Regions from separate parts of the Homo sapiens genome. Here all the other regions are linked to region 2. Evidence: promoter capture Hi-C in 16 types of primary human blood cells and fetal thymus (Javierre and others, 2016). All regions are on one chromosome and are shown on one strand. The core of a region is centred on a gene start or on the middle of the fragment in contact, and the rest is flanking DNA. Distances in the headings are between cores, read along the strand shown.

What was found. Contacts are between HindIII fragments. The CHiCAGO score rates a contact against its expected background, and 5 or more counts as called.
Region 1: a fragment that was not itself captured here is called in contact with the fragment with the promoter of USP7 in region 2 in 9 of 17 cell types (total CD4 T cells, neutrophils, non-activated CD4 T cells and 6 more); the score reaches 12.8 in total CD4 T cells.
Region 3: a contact is called between a fragment that was not itself captured here and the fragment with the promoter of USP7 in region 2, in 1 of 17 cell types (non-activated CD4 T cells). The highest score is 5.3, in non-activated CD4 T cells.
Region 4: a contact is called between a fragment that was not itself captured here and the fragment with the promoter of USP7 in region 2, in 3 of 17 cell types (neutrophils, non-activated CD4 T cells and monocytes). The highest score is 8.7, in neutrophils.

What each region holds. Positions count from the first base shown.
Region 1 is chr16:8,566,783-8,569,482 of GRCh38, reverse strand. It overlaps a transcript of TMEM114 not described here. Among named protein-coding and RNA genes, the nearest start is that of TMEM114, 22 kb to the left of the region's middle. The HindIII fragment of the contact is 2,900 bases long and covers 1-2,700 here.
Region 2 is chr16:8,962,516-8,965,215 of GRCh38, reverse strand. It overlaps USP7 (ubiquitin specific peptidase 7), which reads left to right and starts at 1,310. Exons shown (of 31, transcript NM_003470.3): 1 at 1,310-2,009. The coding sequence starts at 1,931. It overlaps USP7-AS1 (USP7 antisense RNA 1), which reads right to left and starts at 2,503. Exons shown (of 2, transcript NR_184341.1): 1 at 2,322-2,503. RefSeq lists a silencer at 848-1,207 and an enhancer at 2,403-2,700. The HindIII fragment of the contact is 5,189 bases long and covers 1-2,700 here.
Region 3 is chr16:8,688,952-8,691,651 of GRCh38, reverse strand. The region is part of intron 1 of ABAT (4-aminobutyrate aminotransferase); the gene reads right to left. Among named protein-coding and RNA genes, the nearest start is that of ABAT, 16 kb to the right of the region's middle. The HindIII fragment of the contact is 296 bases long and covers 1,260-1,555 here.
Region 4 is chr16:8,649,992-8,652,691 of GRCh38, reverse strand. It overlaps a transcript of METTL22 not described here. Among named protein-coding and RNA genes, the nearest start is that of ABAT, 23 kb to the left of the region's middle. The HindIII fragment of the contact is 2,939 bases long and covers 1-2,700 here.

The sequences.
Region 1 (2,700 bases), core at 63-2,562, 400 kb after region 2:
TGCAAAGTCCTCACGCCCCCTCCGACTTCATTTCCTCCTCACCCATGTCCCTTGGATCAGCTCCTTGGTGGGTCTGGGAAAGGGAGAGGGTGCCCTACCTCCTGGGCCCTGTAATGCGTTCAGCTCTCTCTGGGGAGCTCTGGCCTGGAGTTCCTTTTGCTCTAAAATAACTCTGGCATGACATGGGCTTTCTACGGGGTCAGGTTAGGTCTACAATATGAAGCTGCGAGACTCCCAAGGGGTTGGCCAATTGATAGAGCACTCTTCAAGACTAATCATACCTTTTCCGTCCTCCCCCAGAAAAATCCATCCCTCCTTTCATCCTGGTGTTCTGCCCCTGGGAATGGGCTCCCCATCCGGGTCCCCTGGGGCAGTGCTGTTCACATTTAGCGCGCCCCAGACTCTATGGGCTTGTTGATACTCTCGGGCTGATGCCACCCCCAGGGTGTCTGAGCCAGGAGGCCTGGGTGAAGCCCAAAAACTCACATTTCTAAGTGGCTTCCAGGCGATGCCGAGGCTTCTGGCCCAGAGCCACTGTTTGCATAAATGCCGAGGTGGGGCGTTTATTAAGTGACAGAGAAGGGTTGTCATCTTGCTGCTCTTAGAATCACCTGGGTATCTTCCAAAAATCCTGCTGCTGTCTACATCCTTGATCTGATATTCTCTAGGGCTGGTGTCCAGGCATCAGTGTTTTTTAAGAGCTCTCCAGCCTATTCTAACCCAAAACCATGGCTGAGATTCTGTTCCTGCAAGATTCCAAGTCATGAGATGTAGGGGAGGGCCCGAGGAGCCTTTGGCTTAGGAAACTCTGGGAGGTGCTGATGGTTTGGGGAATACTGGTGTGGATTAAAAGATGACAACACGATTATCAACAATATGGCATCATCGTCTTCATCATGACATCATCATCACCATGACGTCAACACTGTCATCATCATAGCTGACACCCACTGAGTACTTTCTATGCACCTGTGCTATTCTCCATGCCAGTCGGTCAGTCAGTCATTCAACAAACATCATGACATCATCACCACCATGCCATGACATCACCACCACAACGACATGACACCACCATGACATCAGCATTGTCATCATTATAGCTGACATCCACATCTATGCACCTGTGCTATTCTCCACGCCAGTCGGTCAGTCAGTCATTCAACAAACACTCAAAGGAAGGCCAGTACACACCAGCAACTGGGGGGGCAATGACTCCTCCAGACCCAGACCTTGCTCTCTGGGGTGCCACATGATTGAGGAGAGAGAGGCATATGAAATACGTAGCCCGTGGTGAGGACTAGGAGATAAGCAAAGCAGGGTACAGATGAGGAAACTGAGGCACTGGCAGGTTAACATAACTGGACTAAGGGCATAAGGAGAGAAAGGGACGCAACTGGGAGTAAACTTCAGAACTGCCTGATCCCAAGATGGTCCTCCCCCTACTTCCACCAACGCCTGCACTTCTTTACTGGCTGTCTGCTCCTTTCAGGACGTTGCTGCGACGTCCCTGTCTAATCCGGAAAGGCGCAAAAGGAGTGGGTTACTCACATGGCCACATGGGGCTAAATGAGCGCTGTTGGAAAATCAGTTACAATGCTGGGGAAAACAAAGTTTTTGCAAAGTGAGGGCAACCATGCTACCGAAAGGGCGGTCTCTGCTTCCACCTGCTGGTCGTATTGTGGAACTGCTCCAGAGGCAGGATTTGATCCCCAAATTCGTCAAGAGACACGTTTTCAGCCCTCCTAGCGCCCAAGTGCTGGATTAAATACTGCAGGGCCAGAGTTCTCAGCTGGGGCGATTCTCTCCCCCACCTGACATTTGGCAGTGTTTGGAGACAGTTTTGGTTGTTCTTAGTGCGTGTGGGGAGTGGTATTACCGGCAGCTCCAGTGGGAAGAGGCCAGGGATGCTCCTCGCATCCTATGATGCTCAGGACATCTGGTCCCACACGTCCACCTTGGGACATGCTGAGACACTCTGCTAAGCGAGCAATAATGGACAATAACAAACCAAAACATGTGTGCACCTCAGGAACTGACAACACAGAATAAGCTCATTCATTCGCCCATCCATTCATGCATTTGATAAATGCTTGCCAGATACCTACAGTGTCAGAGACTGTTCCAGGGCCTGGGGACACATTCATGGGGGTGGCCAAGAAAATCTCCACCCTTCCTAGCTCACATGGGAACAGATGATAAACCCATGAACCAATAATCTATCTGAGAGATTCAGACAGTGATTAGTGTTATGAAGAAAACAAAACAGGGTGATGAGGCCGGGCGCCATGGCTCATGCCTGTAATCCCAGCACTTTGGGATGCCAAGACAGGCAGGTCACCTGAGGTCAGGAGTTCGAAACTAGCCTGGCCAACATGGTGAAACCCCATCTCTACTAAAAATACAAAAAAAAAAAAAATAGCCAGCTGTGGTAACACGCGCCTGTAATCCCAGCTACTTGGGAGGCTAAGGCAGGAGAATCACTTGAACCCAGGAGGTGGAGGTTACAGTGAGCCGAGATCGCACCATTGCGCTCCAGCCTGGGTGACAGAGTGAGACTCCATCTCAAAAAAAAAAAAAAAAAAAAACCAGGGTGATGGGATGAAAGGTGTCTGGTAGAGATGTGACTCCAGGAAGGACAATTAGAAAGGGCTTCTTGGAGGAGGTGACATTGTGCTGAGACCCGCATGAAGAACCTGTAGG
Region 2 (2,700 bases), core at 61-2,560:
TGATACAACAGTGAGCAAAACATTCTTTCGGGGGGAAGGGAGATGAACAGTACATAAATGGGAGAAAAATGCAGGGAAAGCGGGTATAGGGAGATGGAGAGAAGACAGGTACCACAATCTTCTGGCCTTGTTAGGGTGAAATTCTATTCTCCCCTGAGATGTGTAGAAATGTATATCGGTTTGCTCCATTTTTATTGACCCACACTGCCTTGATTAACTGGAAAAGTTGAGACCCTAATCATCAGTCTGTCAATGACTGAATGAGACAGGACAGGAGATATATTCACCAAATGTCTCCTGGAATAGGGAGGCCCCGGGTGAATGATCCCAGACTGGGTTGATAGGAAGGAAGTAAATTAATACCAAATGTGAAGGGTAGTGGGCTTGTTTTATTTTTATATTATTATTTTATTATCACTATTAGTTGAGACAGGGTCTCATTCTGTTGCCCAGGCTGGAGTGCAGTGGCGCCATCTTTGATCACTGCAGCCTCAGTCAACCTCCCAAGCGAACCTCCAGCCTCAGCCTCCCAAGTAGCTGTCACTACAGGCAGGAGGCACAACACCCGGCTAATTAAAAATACATTTCAAAAATATAAAAACAAAACCCAAAACCTTTGTAGAGAGGGTGGTCTCTTACTCTTGGCCTCAAGTGATTCTCCCACCTCGGCCTCCCAAAGTGCTGGGATCACAGGTGTGAGCAGCTGCGCCCCGCCTGGGGTTGCTCTTGAGGAGCCAAACTTTGCCAGATTAGGCTGACAGTGAGAAAATAAATTCTTCCACGGTAGATACTGGGTGAAAAAGTGCACGTCAGCGGGCAAGGGTAAGTAACGACAATAACAGGAACTTCTAGGCGCTGACCCCAAGCTCCCTTCCGGGCCCTATCCCGAGCAGTCCCCGGGCAACCTCCAGCGCTCGCCCCGGCGCGCTAGGCTGGGACCTGAACCCCGGCTGCCGGGTGGCTTCTGGGCCCCTCCTCATTGCCGCTCCTGGGTCTTTCGGGGTGTCCGGCTCCCCAGGATGGGAAGGATTCCGGTTCACCTCCGCAGGGCTAAGTCACCGGGCGGCCCGCCTCGGCCCCCAGGGCCCGGGGGCAGGGAGCGCCGAGGGTCCGCCGCGGGGCTGCGGCGCAGGCGGTGCCGGGGCGCGGCGCTGCGGGGCAGGCGGGCCTCGGCGGCGGCGGCAGGCGGGTCGCTCCCTGCTCCGCCTCCCGTGCTCCGCCCTGCGCTCCCGCTCCGCCCTCCGGCTCGGCGCCCGCCCGCTTGCTCTCCTCGCTCGCTCGCTCGCTCCGCGGCCCCCCATGCGGATGTGACATTTCACGCCGCCGCCATTTTGAGAGCGAGCCGAGCCGAGCTGCCGGGCGCCGCGTCCGCTGCCGGAGCCCCGACGACGACGCCGAGGAGGCGGAGGCCGCGGCTCTCGGAACGCGGCCGGCCCGTCGCCCGCCCGCTCCGCCGCTCCCGCCGGCCCCAGGGCCCGCAGGCCCGCCGCGGCCGGCCAGGCCTCCCGTCCGCCGCGCCCGGCCCGAGGCGGGGCTGACTCCGCGGCCCCCGACCGGCCGCCCTCCGCCCCCGGCCGGCCCGCGGCCCCGCAGCCCCGGCCCCGGCCCCGGCGGCGGGAGGCGGGCCCCGCGGCGGCGGCGGCGGCGGCCGCAGCGAGCGACGAGGCCGCCCGGCCCGGCCCGCCGGCCGCCCGCCCGCCTCGGCGCCGAGATTGGGCGAATCGCGAGCAAGTACGTGCGCGTCTCCCTGCCGCCGCCGCCGCCCGCCGCGGGCCGCCCCGGGGCCGCCGTCGCCGACGACGCGCGGGAGGAGGAGGAGGAGGCCGCCCCGCCGCCGCCGCCGCCGCCGCCGCCCCGGCTCGCCGCCGCCCGCCCGCCGGGCTCGCAGCCCCGGCCCCCGGCCGCAGGCGAGGCCCAGGCCGCGGCCGACATGAACCACCAGCAGCAGCAGCAGCAGCAGAAAGCGGGCGAGCAGCAGTTGAGCGAGCCCGAGGACATGGAGATGGAAGGTGAGGCCCGAGGGCCGGCCGCGGCGGGGCCGGGGGGCGCCTTTCATTGTGGCCGGGGGAGCCGCGGGAGCCACGCGAGGGGCTCGCCATCTTTAACCAGGCCCCGGGCGGCCGCCGGGCCTCGGCCTGGCCTCCCGGCCCCGGCCTGCGAGGCTGCAAAGTCATGCCGGGTCCGCGGGCGAGGGGCGGCCGCCGGGACCCCGGCCCCGTGCATTGTCCCGACCTCGCGTCCGCCGGGCCTCCGCGGCACAAAGCGCCCTGAGTTGTAAATTCGAGCGCTCAGGCAGCGGAGGGACGGAGGTGTTTTCTCACCCAGGTTGGGAGGCGGACTCCGGGGACCGTCCCCGTTCTGGGGCGTCCGGTTGGATCTGGTGTGGCTGGGGAATTCCTGACCTCCCCGGGCGCGGGGCTCGCCCGCACCTGCTCCGGTGCGCTCCCCCGGAGGGCGCGCCGTGGCTCGGAAGCGCTCTTCCAAATCACTTTCTAACAGCACTGCCTAGCGTCGGGCTTACGTTCGAAAATACCTGCAAGGAACGCAGATGTTGTCAGGTTTTGGACTGGCCCAGAGTTCTGACCCGGGCGCTGTTGGTTTCCGAATCCACCTGTTTTTCGGGGAGTTTGTACTTGGCAGTGTGTGGTGCAGCCAGCATCCGGCCAGGTGTGCGCTTGCAACCGTGCGAAAGCCCTGCCG
Region 3 (2,700 bases), core at 158-2,657, 270 kb after region 2:
CTGGCCAACATGGCGAAACCCCCTCTCTATTAAAAATACAAAAATGTTGCCGAGTGTGGTGGTGCACGACTGTAATTCCAGCTACTCAGGAAGCTGAGGCAGGAGAATTGCTTGAACCCAGGAGGCAGAGATTGCATTGAGCCAAAATTGTGCCACTGCACTCCAACCTAGGCAACAGAGTGAGAGTCTGTCTTGGAAAAAAAAAAAAGTTCCCTGGGGAGCACAGTTGCAGCAGAGAACCCTGCTCTCCAGGAAATGTGGCAGGTTATCTGCTCCAATGTGATGTATTAACTGCAGGCAGGTGCAAGTGTTCAGGTGAAGGGGTTCAAATCCCAACTCCCTCACTTGGTTTCTGAGGACCTGGTGCAAGTTCTGTAATAGCCCCTCATCTGTAAAATGGGTTTGAAACCACATCAAAGGGTTATTGTGGGGTTCCCAGAGAGGGTACTCATAGTACACAGTATATTACCAAGCACTAAGTAGATAATAAACAGAGGAGGTGTGGCTGTAGCATCAAGCTATGTGCCAATATGGGCAAGTGTGGTTTGACGAAGGGAGAGCTTAACTGAAATCTGTATTCTATTTTTCAGGGTTTTTTTTTTTCCCCCAACACACTGCCAATACTTATTCTAAAAATTCTAAAACAACATTATTTCCCCCAGGCTCTAAAACCTCCCTGAAGCAGTGTTAACTCCTGGCTTCTTCATACATTCATTTGCAAACAAATTCCCACCTTGAAAACCCACAAAGAACACAGCGGCCACCTACATTCATGAAAACAACATCAATCCTGTCCGCTATGTTTGGCTCTCCTGTCCTGGAACAAGGGGCAGACCCATTTAATGAGATTTTGGGTGCTGGTGTATATTCAACTTCCTCCCCACAATTCTATAGAAACCCAGCAGATATTTACCTTGATGAAAACCTTCTTAATTACTCCACTTGGTGCAGAAAGAACCAAAACCCCATGTTGGCTGCCAAATTTAAAAGGCACTGCCGAGAATGAGATGAGGGTCTTAGATCTGGATAAATCATCGGATCCGCTCAAGGCACAGATTGGAAACATCTCAGAATCCTGTCCTACTCCCCAGAAATGTTGTCATTCTGTACGTAAAATTCCTGATGAGTATGACTCACTCTATATTTTGAAAAGGAAAAAAGTACCACAAAAAATGTAGAAAAATATATTGTTGGAGACTTTTATATTTGCCCTTTGGAAGGTGTGTGGTCTTAGGCAAGTGACTTAAGCTCTCTAAGCTTCTGTGTTCTTATCCATAGAGTAGGAATCATGCCTCCACGGGTGAGGAGTAGAGATGATGGTGAATGAGGAGAAACAGTTCAAGTTCACAGCACTGCGGCTGGCACCAGGTCCACCTTAAGGGACACTCCAGCAAGCAAGACACTCGCCAGGCTGGGGAGAAAAGAGTTCCAGACCTGAGATGGTGCCAGGCAGATGCTGCTGCTGCCAGAACCTGGGCTGACTGCACAGTAAAACTGTTGCTTCCACTGCTAGCAAAAATGAAATGTTCAGTGCCAGGAGCTGGGAGATGAAGCTTAATAAAACTGATGTGTCACTCCAGGGGTTGCCATACACATTCTTCTCCTGCCAAGAAGCAACCCTAGTTGTGCTGAAAAGGCTCTTGGAACTACCCTAAATCTGGAATATTCAAGGTGACTCTTGTTATTGTTCTTAGGATAGTTGTTCTAGGTATAAAAACCAGCTGTTGAATGTAGTTTAAAGGCCTTGAGGTCTGGTCCCTATCACCATTCCAATTTCTGTGCATAGCACCTTCCTGACTCTGGGTTTGGCCACGAGGATCTACTGTTTGTCCTGGGAAGGCTTCTACTCAGTCTTTGCAGATGCTGTTCCCACCACCCAAAATGCTTTTCCCTTGCTTCTGATTCCTTCATTTCTACTCACACTTCTGATATCAGTTCATGACTCACTTTCTCAGAGAAGACTTCCCTGAACCTCTCCCACCAGATCAAATCTTCCTTTTAGCACAGAATCCTACACAGCTCCCCTTTGTGGCCCCATCACATTCATATGTTACCTCTATTTGTGGAATTATTTGGTTCATGTCTTGTCACTTATAAGACTATACACTTTAAGGTAGAAGTTGTGCATATGATTAGACTTGAATTCCCATCATGATACCATCTGGCACTGTACTGGAAGCCCAATACATTTTTGTCAAATTGTTAGTAAGTCTTGATTGGTGCAGTCTCTTTAGAGGGCAACGAGGCAATGCCTATCATATTCTAAGGCTACAGCAGTCAAGATGTGGTATGGGGGCAAAGATTAAACACACGGATTAATAGAACCGAACAGAGAATAGAAACACATACATGCATATATGGACACTTGATTTTTGACAATGGAGGCAGTGATACTGGGCCAAATGAACTATCTATGTAGGAAAAAATTAATCATGATTCTACCTAATACAATACATAAAAATCAACCCTAGGTGGATGCTGGAGATAAATATGAAAGGCAAAACATGAAAGCTTCCAGAAGATAATAGAAGAAACAACACAAATGACGTTGAACTTTTTTTTTTTTTTTTTTGAGACAGGGTCTCACTCTATCACCCAGGCTGGAGTGCAGTGGTGCAATCTCGGCTCACTGCAACCTCTGCCTTCTGGGTTCAAGTGATTCTCCTGCCTCAGCCTCCCAAGTAGCTGGGACTAAAGGCA
Region 4 (2,700 bases), core at 122-2,621, 310 kb after region 2:
AAATTTTTTTTTTAAAATAATTATTTGTTTTAAATAACATGAGAATGGGTCTCACTATGTTGCCCAGGCTGGTCTCAAACTCCTGGCTCAAGTGATCCTCCTACCTCGGCCTCCCAAAGTGCTGGGATTACAGGTGTGAGCCACTGCACCTGGCCACACATGAGGGTTTCACAGCAAGCAAGGGCAAGGGCACACACTACATCTCACTTTTTTTTTTTTTTTTTTTTTTTTTTGAGACGGAGTCTCCCTCTGTTGCCCAGGCTGGAGTGCAGCGGCATGATCTCGGCTCATTGCAACCTCGACCTGCTCGGTTTAAGCGATTCTTGTGCCTCAGCCTCCTGAGTAGCTGGGATTACAGCTGTGCACCACCACGCCCGGCTAATTTTTGTATTTTTGGTAGAGATGGGGTTTCACCATGTTGGCCAGGCTGGTCTTGAACTCCTGACCGCAAATGATCCTCCCACATTGGCCTCCCAAAGTGCTGGGATAACAGGCTTGAGCCACCGCGCCCGGCCTACATCTCACTTTTATCTGGACTCTATACTGAAGAGCATGAACTCTGAGGCTGTGTCCCTGGCAGCATTTCTCCCCCAACTGGCAGCCCGTGGAAGTGGAGTGGAGCTGGGATCAGCAGGATAAAGCATGACTTTTCTTTTTTGCTTGTTTTATTTTAAGTTCTGGGATACATGTGCAGAATGTGCAGGTTTGTTACATAGGTATATGTGTGCCATGGTGGTTTGCTGCACCTATCAACCCGTCATCTAGGTTTTAAGCCCTGCATGCATTAGGTATTTGTCCTAACGCTCTCCCTCCTCGTCCCCCATCCCCCAAAAGGCCCCGGTGTGTGATGTTCTCCTCCCTATGTCCTTGTGTTCTCATTGTTCAACTCCCACTTATGAGTAAGAACAAAAGCATGACTTTTCTCTCTCTCTGAGGGTTGCCCAGGTCCTCCAAAATCATGCTCGTGTACAACACGGAACCTGAAATTGAAGTCAGGCTTTTTCCATTTGACTTTTCAGATTTGCTTTTTGTCCAGCTATTGCTTCAGGATAGGGTGGCAAACAGGATCCCTTTTATTTATAGAGAGAGGGAGAGATTGCTCCCAGTGATGTCTCTAGCAGGTGATGATGTGAGACAATCCAACCTTACAAATCACACAGGCTGCAAGGTGCAAGTTGAAAATTCCGCCAAGCCAAAAACTCTACCTTAGGACTAAGTCTGCAATTTAATGAAAACTTCACCAGGGCCAAGTATGACTCTAGGCATCTTTCATGGATCATTTAGTATGTTTTTTTTTTTTTTTTTGAGACAGAGTCTTGCTCTGTTGCCCAGGCTGGAGTGCAGTGGCTCGATCTCAGCTCACTGCAAGCTCCGCCTCCCGGGTTCACGCCATTCTACTGCCTTAGCCTCCCGAATAGCTGGGACTACAGGTGCCCGCCACCACGCCTGGCTAATTTTTTGTATTTTTAGTAGAGACGGGGTTTCACCATGTTAGCCAGGATGGTCTTGATTTCCTGACCTCATGATCTGCCCACCTCGGCCTCCCAAAGTGCTGGGATTACAGGTATGAGCCACTGCGCCTGGCCCATTTAGTATGATCTTTACAATAATTCTGTGAAGAAAGAATTCTTACCCTCTTTTTTTCCCATTTATTTATTTATATTATTTTTTGAGACGGAGTCTCGCTCTGTCACCCAGGCTGGAGTGCAATGGTGCAATCTTAGCTCACTGCAAACTCCACCTCTCAGGTTCCAATTCTCCTGCCTCAGCCTCCAGAGTAGCTGGAATTACAGGCACGCCACCATGCCCAGCTATTTTTTTGTATTTTTAGTAGATACGGGGTTTTGTCATGTTGGCCAGACTGGTCTTGAACTCCTGACCTCAGGTGATCCATTTGCCTTGGCCTCCCAAAGTGCCGGGATTACACGCATGAGCCACATCTGGCTTTTTTTCATTTATTGATAAATGAAATTTTGCATATTATGGGGTGCATATGAATGTGTTTTATATACACAGAATGTGTAATTATCAAGCCAGGGTATTTGAGGTATTCACCACCTTGAGAATTTATAATTTTATGTGTTGGGAACATTTCAAGTTCTCTCTTCTAGCAACTTTGAAATACACAATATATTGTTGCTAACTGTAGCCACCCTAGTCTGCTACCAAACATTAGAAGGTATTTCTTCCCTAAGTTTGTACCCATTCACCAACCTATCAAGAAGTTTTACTATTTTACAGGTGAGGAAACTCAGGTTCAGAGAGGCTAGGTCATTTGTCCAAGGTCATTGCTGTTACACAGCAGAGGCAGGATTTAAACCCTGGCTTGCTCAACTCCGGAGTTGGTGGGTTTTTTTTTCTTTAGAAATAGCGTCTCTGTCTGTAAGGCTGTGAGGGTGTAGTGCAGTGGCACAATCACAGTTCACTGCAGCCTAGAATTCCTTCGCTTAGGCGATGCTCCCGACCCAGCCTCCTGAGTAGCTGGGAGTACAGGTGCATGACACACCTGGCTAATTAAAAAAAAGTTTTTTAGAGATAGGGTCTCTGTATGTTGCCCAGGCTGATCTCAAACTCCTGTCCTCAAGTAATCCTCCTGCCTTTGCCTCCCAAAGTGCTGGGATCACAGGTATGAGCCACCACATCCAACCCAGAGTTTGTGCTCTTAACCAGGGATGACATGTTGCAACTTCACTCCTCACA